2 separate regions of the Homo sapiens genome follow, and region 1 is linked to region 2. The links are contacts of gene promoters, found by promoter capture Hi-C in human tissues and cell types (Jung and others, 2019). All regions are on one chromosome and are shown on one strand. The core of a region is centred on a gene start or on the middle of the fragment in contact, and the rest is flanking DNA. Distances in the headings are between cores, read along the strand shown.

What was found. Contacts are between HindIII fragments. The study calls those that stand out against the background at their distance.
Region 1: a fragment that was not itself captured here is called in contact with the fragment with the promoter of S100A12 in region 2 in 6 of the 25 tissues and cell types used here (H1 embryonic stem cells, aorta, heart left ventricle and 3 more).

The regions. Positions count from the first base shown.
Region 1 is chr1:153,315,484-153,322,015 of GRCh38, reverse strand. No RefSeq gene overlaps it. Among named protein-coding and RNA genes, the nearest start is that of PGLYRP3, 5.8 kb to the right of the region's middle. The HindIII fragment of the contact is 4,919 bases long and covers 1-4,423 here.
Region 2 is chr1:153,374,058-153,380,608 of GRCh38, reverse strand. S100A12 (S100 calcium binding protein A12) reads left to right here and starts at 4,988. Exons shown (of 3, transcript NM_005621.2): 1 at 4,988-5,057; 2 at 5,997-6,154. The coding sequence starts at 6,017. It also overlaps the pseudogene LAPTM4BP1. RefSeq lists a silencer at 55-225. The HindIII fragment of the contact is 10,940 bases long and covers 1,098-6,551 here.

The sequences.
Region 1 (6,532 bases), core at 715-3,214, 56 kb after region 2:
CATTTCTGTTGATCTCCACCAGTTCTCATGCAATACCCTTTTCATTCTTAGAACTGTCCAGAGCAGTGCCCCTCTAGGTGGTCCCTCACATTCTGGTGATGAATATCTGCTGTGGATTCCAGATTATAATGGTCTCTTTTTCCATCTCCACGTTTCCTCATAGCACTCACCATTCCACTACCTCACCATTCATTGTTATGGCTTCTAGTATTAGTTTCCTGACTTGCTCTCTCCCCTCTCCACACTTACTTTCATATACCAAAAAGTTTGTGGCCATTTTTGTCTTCTTAAATTATATATATTTACAGCACACTACATGATGTTTTGGTACATGTATACATTGTGAAATGGTTAAATCAAGCTAATTAACATATCTATCACCATGCATACTTGTTTTTTTTTGTGGTGAGAAGATTTAAGATCTACTCTTAGCAATTTTCAAGTATACAATATATTAGTATTAACTATGATCACCTTGCGGTACTACGGATCTCCCAAACATATTCATCCTTTGTAACTAAAATTGGATTTTTTTAATCTGCTAATTTTGCTAAAGGTGTAGGATTTTAACATATTAATTCTTCTTGTGTCTTTGTATGGTTATGAGAAAGATACATCAAAGATTCCATTCTAAGCTGTTGACATGCTCTTATATGGCCAGGAGGCTACCTGATTATCTTAGATACTGTATTTGTTTTCTATTGCTGCATAACAAATGGCCACAAACTTAGCAGCTTAAAACAACAACATTTATTATTTCATAGTTTCCATGGGTCAGAAATCTGGGCACGACTTATGTAGGTCCTCTGCTAAAGTCCTTACAGGGCTAAGTTAAGGTCTGAAGGGCTGCATTCTCATCTGGAGGCTTGACTGAGGAAAAATCTGCTCCCAAGCTCATTCAGTTTGTTGGCATCATTCATTTCCTTATGGCTGTGTGACTGAGGCCCCTGTTTTCTTGTTAGATGCTGGCCTGGAATCATTCTTAGCTCCCAGAGGCATCTCTCAGATCCACTCTGGGGCCCCCTTCATAGGCCTTCTCACAACATGACAGGTTACTCTTTCAAGCAGGATCATTTCTCTTCAGGAAGTAAGACAACTAGGTTGGGCACAGTGGCTCACACCTATAATCCCAGCACTCTGGGAGGCCAAGGCAGGTGGATCTTTTGAGCTCAGGAGTTCAAGACCAGCCTGGGCAATATGGTGAAACTCCATCTCTACACAAATTCAAAAATCAGCCAGGTGTAGTGGTGCACCTGGAATCTCAGCTATTTGGGAAGCTGAGGTGGGTGCACAGAAGGCTGGGAGGTCGAGGGTGCAGTGAGCCAAGATTGCACCACTTCATCACAGCCTGGGTGACAAAGCAAGACCCTATCTCAACAAAAAAAGAAAAAAGAAAGAAAAGAAAGTAAGGCAACTAAACATATTGAGTATGCCAAGAGAGTGCTCTTTCAAGATGGCCGAATAGGAACAGCTTCGGTCTGTAGCTCCCAGTGAGATTGACGCAGAAGATGGGTGATTTCTGCATTTCCAACTGAGGTACCTGGTTTATTGGTTCATCTCATCAAGACTGGTTGGACCGTGGGTGCAGTCCATGGAGGGTGAGCTGAAGCAGGGTGGGGCATCACCTCACCTGGGAAGTGCAAGGAGTCAGGGAATTTCCCTTTTCCAGCCAAGGGAAGCTGTGAGAGACTGTACCAGGAAGAACGGTACACTCCTGCCCAAATACTGCACTTTTGCCATGGTCTTTGCAACTGGCAGACCAGGAGATTTCCTCTGGTGCCTGGCTCGGTGGGTCCCACGCCCATGGAGCCCAGCAAGCTAATATCCATTGGCTTGAAATTCTCACTGCTAGAGCAGCAGACTGAAATTGACCTGGAATGCTGGAGCTTGCTGGGGGGAGGGGCATCCACCATTGCTGAGGCTTGAGTAGGCGATTTTATGCTCATAGTGTAAATAAAGCTGCCGGGAAGCTTGAACTGGTCAGAGCCCACTGCAGCTCAGCAAGGCTGACTGCCTCTCTAGATTCCACCTCTGTGGGCAGTGCATATCTGAACAAAAGGCAGCAGCCCCAGCCAGGGACTTATAGATAAAACCCTCATCTCCCTGGGACAGAGCACCTGGGGAAAGGGGCAGCTGTGGGCAAAGCTTCTCCAGACTTAAACGTCCCTGCCTGACAGCTCTGAAGAGAACAGTGGTTCTCCCAGTATGGCATTTGTGCTCTGATAATGGACAGACTGCCTCCTTAAGTGGGTCCCTGACCCCTGTGTAGCCTGACTGGGAGACACCTCCCAGTAGGGACAGAGAGACACCTCATACAGGAGAGCTCTGGCTGGCATCTTGTTGGTGCCCCTCTGGGATGAAACTTCCAGAGGAAGGATCAGGAAGCAATATTTGCTGTTCTGCAGCCTCTGCTGGTGATGCCTAGGCAATCAGCGTCTGGACCTCCAGCAAACTCCAACAGACCTGCAGCTGAGGGGCCTGACTGTTAGAAGGAAGACTAACAAACAGAAAGGAATAGCATCAACATCAACAAAAAGGACATCCACACCAAAACCCCATCTGTAGGTCACCAACATCAAAGACCAAAGGTAGATAAAACCACAAAGATGGGGAGAAACCAGAGCAGAAAGGCTGAAAATTCCAAAAATCAGAAGATTTCTTCTCCAAAGGACCACAACTCCTCACCAGCAAGGGAACAAAACTGGATGGAGAATGAGTTTGATGAGTTGACAGAAGTAGGCTTCAGAAGGTGGGTAATAACAAACTTCTCCGAGCTAAAGAAGCATGTTCTAACCCATCGCAAGCAAGTTGAAAACCTTGAAAAAAGGTTAGGGGAATGGCTAACTAGAATAACCAGTGTAGAGAAGAACATAAATGACCTGATGGAGCTGAAAAACACAGCATGAGAACTTCATGAAGCATACAAAAGCTTCAATAGCCGATTTGATCAAGGGAAGAAAGGATATCAGTGATTGAAGATCAAATTAATGAAATAAAGTAAGAAGACAAGATTAGAGAAAAAAGAGTGAAAAGAAATGAACAAAGCCTCCAAGGAATATGGGACTATGTGAAAAGACCAAATCTACGTTTGATTGGTGTACCTGAAAGTGACAGGGAGAATGGAACCAAGTTAGAAAACACTCTTCAGGATATTATCCAAGAGAACTTCCCCAACCTAACAAGGCAGGCCAACATTCAAATTCAGGAAATACAGAGAATGCCACAAAGATATTCCTCTAGAAGAGCCACCCTAAGACACATAATCATCAGATTCACCAAGGCTGAAATGAAGAAAAAAATGTTAAGGGCAGCCAGAGAGAAAGGTCCCACAAAGGGAAGCCCATCAGACTAACAGCAGATCTCTCGGCAGAAACTCTACAAGTCAGAAGAGAGTGGGGGCCAATATTCAACATTCTTAAAGAATTTTCAACCCAGAATTTCATATCCAACCAAACTAAGCTTCATAAATGAAGGAGAAATAAAATCCTTTACAGACAAGCAAATACTGAGTGATTTTGTCACCACCAGGCCTGCCTTACAAGAGCTCCTGAAGGAAGCACTAAACGTGGAAAGGAACAACTGGTACCAGCCACGGCAAAAGCATGCCAAATTGTAAAGACCATTGACGTTATGAAGAAACGTCATCATAATGTCATCATGCATAAACGTTAGTTGTTTGCATCAACTAACGTGCAAAACAACAAGCTAGCATCATAATGACAGGATCAAATTCACACATAACAATATTAACCTTAAATGTAAATGGGCTAAATGCCCCAATTAAAAGACACAGACTAGGAAATTGGATAAAGAGTCAAGACCCATCAATGTGCTATATTCAGGAGAACGATCTCACATGCAAAGACACACATAGGCTCAAAATAAAGGGACGGAGGAAGATCTACTAAGCAAATGGAAAGCAAAAAAGAAGCAGGAGTTGCAATCCTCATCTCTGATAAAACAGACTTTAAATGAACAAAGATCAAAAGAGACAAAGAAGGCCATTACATAATGGTAAAGGGATCAATTCAACAAGAAGAGCTAACTATACTAAATATCTGTGCACCCAATACAGGAGCACCCAGATTCATAAAGCAAGTCCTTAGAGACCTACAAAGAGACTTAGACTCCCACACAATAATAATGGGAGACTTTAACACCCCACTGTCAATATTAGACAGATCATTGAGACAGAAAATTAACAAGGATATCCAGGAATTGAACTCAGCTCTGCACCAAGTGGACCTAATAGGCATCTACAGAGCTCTCCACCCCAAATGTTGCAACAGAATATACATTCTTCTCAGCATCACAATGCACTTATTCTAAAATTGACCACATAATTGGAAGGAAAACACTCTTCAGCAAATGCAAAAGAACAGAAATCACAACAAACTGTCTCTCAGACCACAGTGCAATCAAACTAGAACTCAGGATTAAAAAACTCACTCAAAACCACACAACTACATGCAAACCGAACAACCTGCTCCTGAATGACTACTGGGTCAACAACGAAATGAAGGCAGAAATAAAGATGTTCTTTGAAACCAATGAGAACAAAGACACAATGTACCAGAATGTCTGGGACACATTTAAAGCAGTGTGCAGAGGGAAATTTATAGCACTAAATGACCACAAGAGAAAGCAGGAAAGATCTAAAATCGACACCCTAACATCATAATTAAAAGAACTAGAGAAGCAAGAGCAAACACATTTAAAAGCTAGCAGAAGACAAGAATAACTAAGATCAGAGCAGAACTGAAGGAGATAGGGACACAAAAAACCCTTCAAAAAATCAATGAATCCAGGAACTGGTTTTTTGAAAAGATCAACAAAATTGATAGACTGCTAGCAAGACAAAGAAGAAAAGAGAGAAGAATCAAATAGGTGCACTAAAAAATAATAAAGGGGATATCCCCACCGATCCCACAGAAATACAAACTACCATCAGAGAATACTACAAACACCTCTACGCAAATAAATTAGAAAATCTAGAAGAAATGGATAAATTCCTGGACACATACACCCTCCCAAGACTAAACCAGGAAAAAATTGAATCTCTGAATAGACCAATAACAGGTTCTGAAATTGAGGCAATAATTAATAGCCTACCAACCAAAAAAAGTCCAGAACCAGACAGATTCACAGCCAAATTCTACCAGAGGTACAAAGAGGAGCTGGTACCATTCCTTCTGAAACTATTCCAATCAATAGAAAAAGAGGGAATCCTCCATAACTCATTCTATGAGGCCAGCACCATCCTGACATCAATGTCTGGCAGAGACACAACAAAAAAGAGAATTTTAGGCCAATGTCTTTGATGAACATCAATGCGAAAATCCTCAATGAAATACTGGCAAGCCGAATCCAGCAGCACATCAAAAAGCTTATCCACCACAACGAAGTCGGCTTCATCCCTGGGATGCCAGGCTGGTTCAACATATGCAAATCAATAAATGTAATCCATCACGTAAACAGAACCAATGACAAAAACCACATGATTATCTCAATAGACGCAGAAAAGGCCTTCGACAAAATTCAACAGCCCTTCATGCTAAAAACTCTCAATAAACTAGGTATTGATGGAACGTATCTCAAAATAATAAGAGCTGCTTATGACAAGCCCACAGCCAATATCATACTGAATGGGCAAAAGCTGGAAGCATTCCCCTTGAAAACCAGCACAAGACAAGGATGCCCTCTCTCACCACTCCTATTCTACATAGTACTGGAAGTTCTGGCCAGGGCAATCATGCAAGAGAAAGAAATAAAGTGTACTCAATTAGGAAAAGAGGAAGTCAAATTGTCCCTGTTTGCAGATGACATGATTGTACATTTAGAAAACCCCTTGTCTCAGCCCAAAATCTCCTTAAGCTGATAAGCAACTTCAGCAAAGTCTCAGGATACAAAATCAATGTGAAAAAATCACAAGCATTCCTATACACCAATAAAAGACAGAGAGCCAAATCATGAGTGAACTCCCATTCACTATTGCTACAAAGGGAATAAAATACCTAGGAATCCAACTTATAAGGGATGTGAAGGACCTCTTCAAGGAGAACTACAAACCACTGCTCAATGAAATAAAAGAGGACACAAACAAATGGAAGAACATTCCATGCTCATGGATAGAAGGAATCAATATCATGAAAATGGCCATACTGCCCAAAGTAATTTATAGATTCAATGCTATCAAGCTACCACTGACTTTCTTCACAGAATTGGAGAAAACTACTTTAAAGTTCATGTGGAACCAAAAAAGAGCCCTCATAGCCAAGACAATCCTAAGCAAAATGAACAAAGCCGGAGGCATCATGCTACCTGACTTCAAACTATACTACAAGGCTACAGTAACCAAAACAGCATGGTACTTGTACCAAAACAGAGATATAGACCAATGGAACAGAACAGAGCCTTCAGAAATAACACCACACATCTACAACCATCTGATTTTTGACAAACCTGACAAAAACAAGAAATGGGGAAAGGATTCCCTATTTAATAAGTGGTGCTGGGAAAACTGGCTAGCCAT
Region 2 (6,551 bases), core at 3,739-6,238:
TTCATGGATGACGCCAATACGTGCATTGCCATTGCGATTTCTCTTCTCATGATACTGATATCATGAGAATTAAGGCTAATTACGTAATTAAGGCTAATTACGAAGCATACAGGCAACACGCATTCTGGATCATCCCATTCTTCTGTTACCAGATTTTTTTTTTTTTCCGAGACGGAGTCTCGCTCTGTCGCCCGGGCTGGAGTGCAGTGGTGCGATCTCAGTTCATTGCAAGCTCCACCTCCCGGGTTCACGCCATTCTCCTGCCTCAGCCTCTCCGAGTAACTGGGACTACAGGCGCCAGCCACCACGCCCGGCTAATTTTTTGTATTTTTAGTAGAGACGGGGTTTCACCGTGGTCTCCATCTCCTGACCTCCTGATCCACCCCCTTCGGCCTCCCAAAGTGCTGGGATTACAAGCGTGAGCCACCGCACCTGGCCCTGTTACCAGATCTTTGATTTTGCTCTGAACACCTTGGTTGCAATCACTGTGCTTGTTTATCCAAACTCCATTCAGGAATACATACGACAACTGCCTCCTAATTTTCCCTACAGAGATGATGTCATGTCAGTGAATCCACCTGTTTGGTCCTTATTATTCTTCTGTTTATTAGCATTATCTTAACTTTTAAGGGTTACTTGATTAGCTGTGTTTGGAACTGCTGCAGATAGATGAACGGCAGGAACTCCTCCGATGTCCTGGTTTATGTTACCAGCAATGACACTAAGGTGCTCCTACCCCGGTATGATGATACCACTGTGAATGGTGCTGCCAAGGAGCCGCCGCCACCCTAGGTGCTGCCAAGGAGCCGCCGCCACCCTAGGTGTCTGCCTAAGCCTTTGAGTGGGCGGAGCTGGGGGCAGCAGCTTGACTTTTCAGATATCTGAGCAATAGTCATGTTATTTCACTTTTCAGGTGAGCTCTCTGCGCTTGTTTGTTGCCGAAGTGCTACTTTTTAAGATTTAGATGTTAGGTTGAAACCTGTAGTTTTCCTCAACATATGCTTTGTTAGAACACTGTGATAGATTGGCTGTAGAATACTTTCTGTAGGATTGGGGGTGTAACAGGCTTCACTAACCCTCCCTAGGAATGTAAACTTCCCCCAAATCTAGATGGACCTAGAGTCAGAGAAGTCTGCTTTCATACCTGTGGGACCCCAAAGTTGGGCAGTTAGTCATACGTTTCTCTCTGTTCCCTCTCTTTTGAAAGTGTAAAATAAAACCAAAAATAGACAACTTTTCTTAAACCTTTCCAATGTAGAGAACAAAATCTTACGAAAACAGGAATGCCAATTCTGTAATCATTTTTCTAATTAGGTAAATAGAAGTCCTTATGTATGTGTTTCAAGAATTTCCCCCATAACATCCTTTATGACAAGTTCAATGGCAGTTTGTGTTTGGTGGTAAAGGATTTTCTCCATGGCCTGACTTAAAACCATTGGAAAGCACCAGGCAGTGGGAGCAGTAACCACCTGATGTCTGTTCTCCTGCATCCCCTGTCCAGGGTCATGGGGCGGCGTGCCTCATCTATGTTAGAGGGTAAAACTGATGTGTTTAGTGCTGCGTGGGATCTGGTGCTCCTCTTCAGGATTCACATCCCCACCCAGGGCCTGCTTTTACTGAGTGTTCTGCCCTAGCCTGGTTCAAGGAAGTCATGCAACTGACTTTATCAAGTGGAATTGGGATATATTTGTTATATATTTACCTAAAAACATGGAAAGGATTTTCCTCCTTCTTCCCCTGCAAGGTACATTCTACAGCTTTGAACTTCCAAGTATGCCTAGTCACCTTTTAAAATGTAAAAGTTTTCAGAAAAATGAGGATTGCTTTCCTTTTATGCACTTATTATCTTGACTACCTAAGTTGCAAGGTATTTTTATATATTCATATGTTCAAAAGCCAGCAACTCTCCTGTTGGTCCATTATTGAATGTGCTGTGAATGAAGTCTTTTGCAATTAAAATGAGATTCGCCCACATCCAAGATGAAAAAAAAAATTCCCTCTTAACACTACTTTTGCTACATTCCAGATGTTTTGATATGTTGTGTTGTGTCTCTATTTTTGTATGTTTCAAAGAATTTTTTGATTTCTGCCTTAATTTTGTTGTTTAACCAAAAGTCAGGAACAAGTTGTTTAGTTTCCATTTATTTGTGTGGTTTTGAGAGTTCCTCTTGGTATTGATTTCTATTTTTATTCCACTGCGGTCCAAGATTCTTGGTATGATTTTGATTTTTTTGAATTTATTGAGATTTGCCTTATGACTGAGCATGTGGTTGATCTTAGAGTATGTTCCATGTGCAGATGAAAATAATATATATTCTGTGGTTGTTGGGTGCATTGTTCTATAGATGTCTATTAAGTCTAATTGGTCAAGTGTCAAATTTAAGTCCATAATTTCTTTGTTAGTTTTCTGCCTTGATGATTTGTCTACTGATGTCAGTGGGGTGTTGTCCCCTGCTATTATTGTGTGGCTGCCAAAATCTTTTCTTAGATGCAGAAGTACTTATTTTATAAATCTGGGTGCTCCAGTGTTGGGTGTGTATTTATTTAGGATGGTTAAATTTTCTTGTTAAATCGAACCCTTTATCACTATGTAATGCCCTTCTTTATCCTTTTTTACTGTTGTTGGCTTACAGTCTATCGGATCTGATTCAAGAATAGCAACCTCTGCTCTTTTTTGTTTTCTGTTTGCATGATAGATCTTTCTCCATCCCTTTACTTTGAATCTACAGGTGTCATTACACATGAGACAGGTGCTTGAAGACAGCAGAAGGATGGGTCTTGTTTTTAAATCGAATTTGCCAAGGTATGTGTTTTAAGTGCAGTGTTTAGGCCATTCACATTGGAGGTTAATATTTGTATGTGAGGCTGTGTTCCTGCTTTTTTGATTTCTATTTTTTTTTTTTGAGAGGGAGTCTCACTCTGTTGCCCAGGCTGGAGTGCAGTGGCGCGATCTCGGTTCACTGCAAGCTCCGCCTTGTGGGTTCACGCCATTCTCCTGCCTCAGCCTCCTGAGTATCTGGGACTACAGGTGCCTGCCACCATGCCTGGCTAATTTTTTGTATTTTTAGTAGAGATGGGGTTTCACCATCTTAGCCAGGATGGTCTCGATCTCCTGACCTCGTGATCCGCATTTAGCAACCTCTTGCCTGGATGGCTGGGATCCTGGGCTAGTCCCTTCTCCAGGCAGATGTGAAAAAAAAAAAACATCTCAGGATCCCAAACTTACTAAGCCAGAGGGAAAAGTCAAGCTGGGAAATGGGTCATGCAAGCCTGCCCCCACCCAGGTTGGTTTCTAAATAAGATAGCTACAAAGATAAAAAGCCATACACCAATCTCACAACTTGCCCACAAGGAAATTCCTTGTGAGCCTCAAGATCTTTACCCTAAAACAGTTCTATTGAATTTCACCCTGGCAGTGTAATTGACAGCTTATCTTCACAGGTGTGGGACAAAGGGCAGAACATAAAGTCATCCCTCTGCTCACCCAAGACAAATCCATATCTGATTGCTTCCTCTCCCCTATTTTTGTTATCTTATGTAAAAATGCAGATTCACTGAGCCAGATGAAGGCATAAGTGACTATTTCCTCTACTCCGCTCCCACATGAAAATTGTGTATTCAGTGAAAGATTGATCAAAGACTCAAAAGGATGCAATCACTTGTCTCTTATCTACTGACACATTTAAAAAATATTTCTTCCTCTTCCCCCAATATCCACTGTTTCTCCTTCAAATATTGAAGCCCTCAAAATCATCTTTGGAGAAAGACGTAGACCTACCTCTGGGCACGCATCCTTAACTTTGGCCAAATAAACCTCCTAAAATGATTGAGATTCACCTTGGTCATTGTCATTGATTTACACAAGCCTGATCATCCTGCTCTGGTGGTGTCCTCCTGGGCCTAGTGAAACAAATACTGTCAATGGCTTAACAATGTTGCACTGAGATTGTGTCAGTCAAGGTGACACATGGATCGGAGAGACAGACTTTTGCCTCCAGATCCAGAGAGGTCGGTGGGCACATGAAATGAACTAGCTTTGCTAAGGGGGATATCTGTGTTGTGGGGTAGATGGCAGCACAGGTTCTGGCATGGCCTTGATTGCTCAGCAATCTTATTGACCTCTAGGCATAAACCAAGGGCAGAGTGCTTTTGGATGTCCCTTAGCTTTGGTGCGACATGGGGAATGTACAGATGAGACTTAATCCATTTTGGGCAGGTTTCTGAATCTTGAAGGACCACCTCTCCATGAATCCTGGGCATCTGTTGTCCCTTGCTGCCTCTCTGTGAGTAATAAAGTTGCTTTACTAAAACTCGTGTGAATGTTCTGTCTTACTGAACTCATGAACATGGTAAAGTAACCTAGGCATGGTGAACTTTCTTCACACACAATGATTACCCTACTCCAGCTTTCTAGGTCTTTGTAACAGCCAAGTTAGAAAGTTGGGAAAGCAAAGGGGAGGCATAGTAGCATTGCTCTCTCCTTTTTTGAAAACCTTGGAATCTATTTTGAAAACTGATCCTCTGCTCCAGTGATGAACTTTGCATCCCAGAACGACTTAGGAGGAGGTCTCCCTACCTATCTCCTTAGCTGCATAAAGATCTTTAAGTTGATATTCCATTTGCCAAAACTGAAGAGCTGGTAACCTCATCTGTTAAAACAAGACACTCAGGCTGTAAAGTTTGTTCTCCTAGTCTTTTATTAGGGAGCAGTGGAGTAGAGCTAAACCTGAAACCTGGGCCCTGGCTCAGGGCTAAAAAAGGTTCAGGGCACCCCTGTGCGGGTGGGTGGAGTGGGGGTGATTTTGTTTCAGGCTGAGCAGGAGGGCAAAATTCAGTCTGGGTACAATCTGGGCTGCTCCTGTGGCAGCCTAAGCCACAGGTTTGAAGCTTCTATTGAGCAACAGAGTACTTTACATAAATTGCCTCAAGATGAATCAGAGATTTCTTCACCCAAGGGCTAAGATGAAGCCTGAACTGATTATAAAACCTTCCTTGGCTCAGTGCCCTTCACCACTGCTGGCTTTTTGCTGTAGCTCCACATTCCTGTGCATTGAGGGGTAAGTGCATTTTCCTTGGATGGGTTCTTAGGTGGTCCACAGGGTAGTGACTGCAGGTGACCACTTTGAAATCACAAGGTGTTGGAAACCACAACCCTCCACTTGCCTGAGCACCTCTGGGGTGATATTGCATTTTGGACCCAAGTAGATCAGCTCTTGTTGTGCTATGTAGACTCAGTCCCATGATTTAAGAATGGCTAAGCAGGCCGGGTACGGTGGCTCACGCCTGTAATCCCAGCACTTTGGGAGGCCGAGGCGGGCGGATCATGAGGTGAGGAGATCGAGACCATCCTGGCTAACATGGTGAAACCCCGTCTCTACTAAAAAAATACAAAAAATTAGCCGGGCGTGGTGGCGGGTGCCTGTAGTCCCAGCTACTCGGGAGGCTGGGGCAGGAGAATGGCGTGAACCCGGGAGGCAGAACTTGCAGTGAGCCGAGATCGCCCTACTGCACTCCAGCCTGGGCGGCAGAGTGAGACTCCGTCTCAAAAACAAACAAACAAACAAACAAAAAACCCAAAACAACAACAACAAAAAAAGAATGGCTAAGCAGGGGTGGGTTATGGACCATTTGTGGGGGATATGTGGCCATAGTGCCATCACCTGAGGAAAGCAAACAGCCTGGCCAATCACAGAACCCTTCCCAAGGGACCTTGAGTAAGCAATACCCTCCAAGTTATGCACCCCGGTGGATGAGGTGGTATGGAACATGGGCAACTGAGGCTGATTTTTTTAGACGTTAGACAGTATTATATGTTTTCTCCTCCCCATCCTATCCACACATGAGAAGTTCACCATGGATCAAACAGAGCAGAGACCACAAAATAGATATGGAGGATGTTATGTTTTCTTTAGGCCCTTGATTCAGAAAGAGAGGGGAGAGTGGAGGTTGAGGGGTGGGGGAGAAACTGCCTCTAGACTTCCCTTGTTTCCTTGAAGGTTAACATTAGGCTGGGAAGATGACAAAACTTGAAGAGCATCTGGAGGGAATTGTCAATATCTTCCACCAATACTCAGTTCGGAAGGGGCATTTTGACACCCTCTCTAAGGGTGAGCTGAAGCAGCTGCTTACAAAGGAGCTTGCAAACACCATCAAGGTAGGTGATGCCCCTCTCACTGCAAACTTGCCCATGACCCTGCACTGAGGGGAGTGGCAAGGCCTGGCAGAGGATGGTGGGACAAGGACTGGGGTGGGGTTGGCCCCAGTTTGAGCTCCCAAAGGATGCTCTCCCCGCTGCTGTGGGAGAGGTCCTTTGCTTCCCTCTCTCAATAACTCACTTAAGGCTCTACTCAGTTCCTCTCTCTGAGTCTGTTTCCTCATATGTAAAATGGAGAGAGGCAGGGCACGGGAGGGGTTGAATGAGTGAGCAGAAGAGTACCTTCCAGGTCAAGCCTTGTTAATTCCAGGGTGGTTCATGACCATTGTGTTCTCTGTTTTGTTACACTGGATTCTCCAACACAGTGTTGGCTAATGAGTTAATGTGCCTGGGCCTT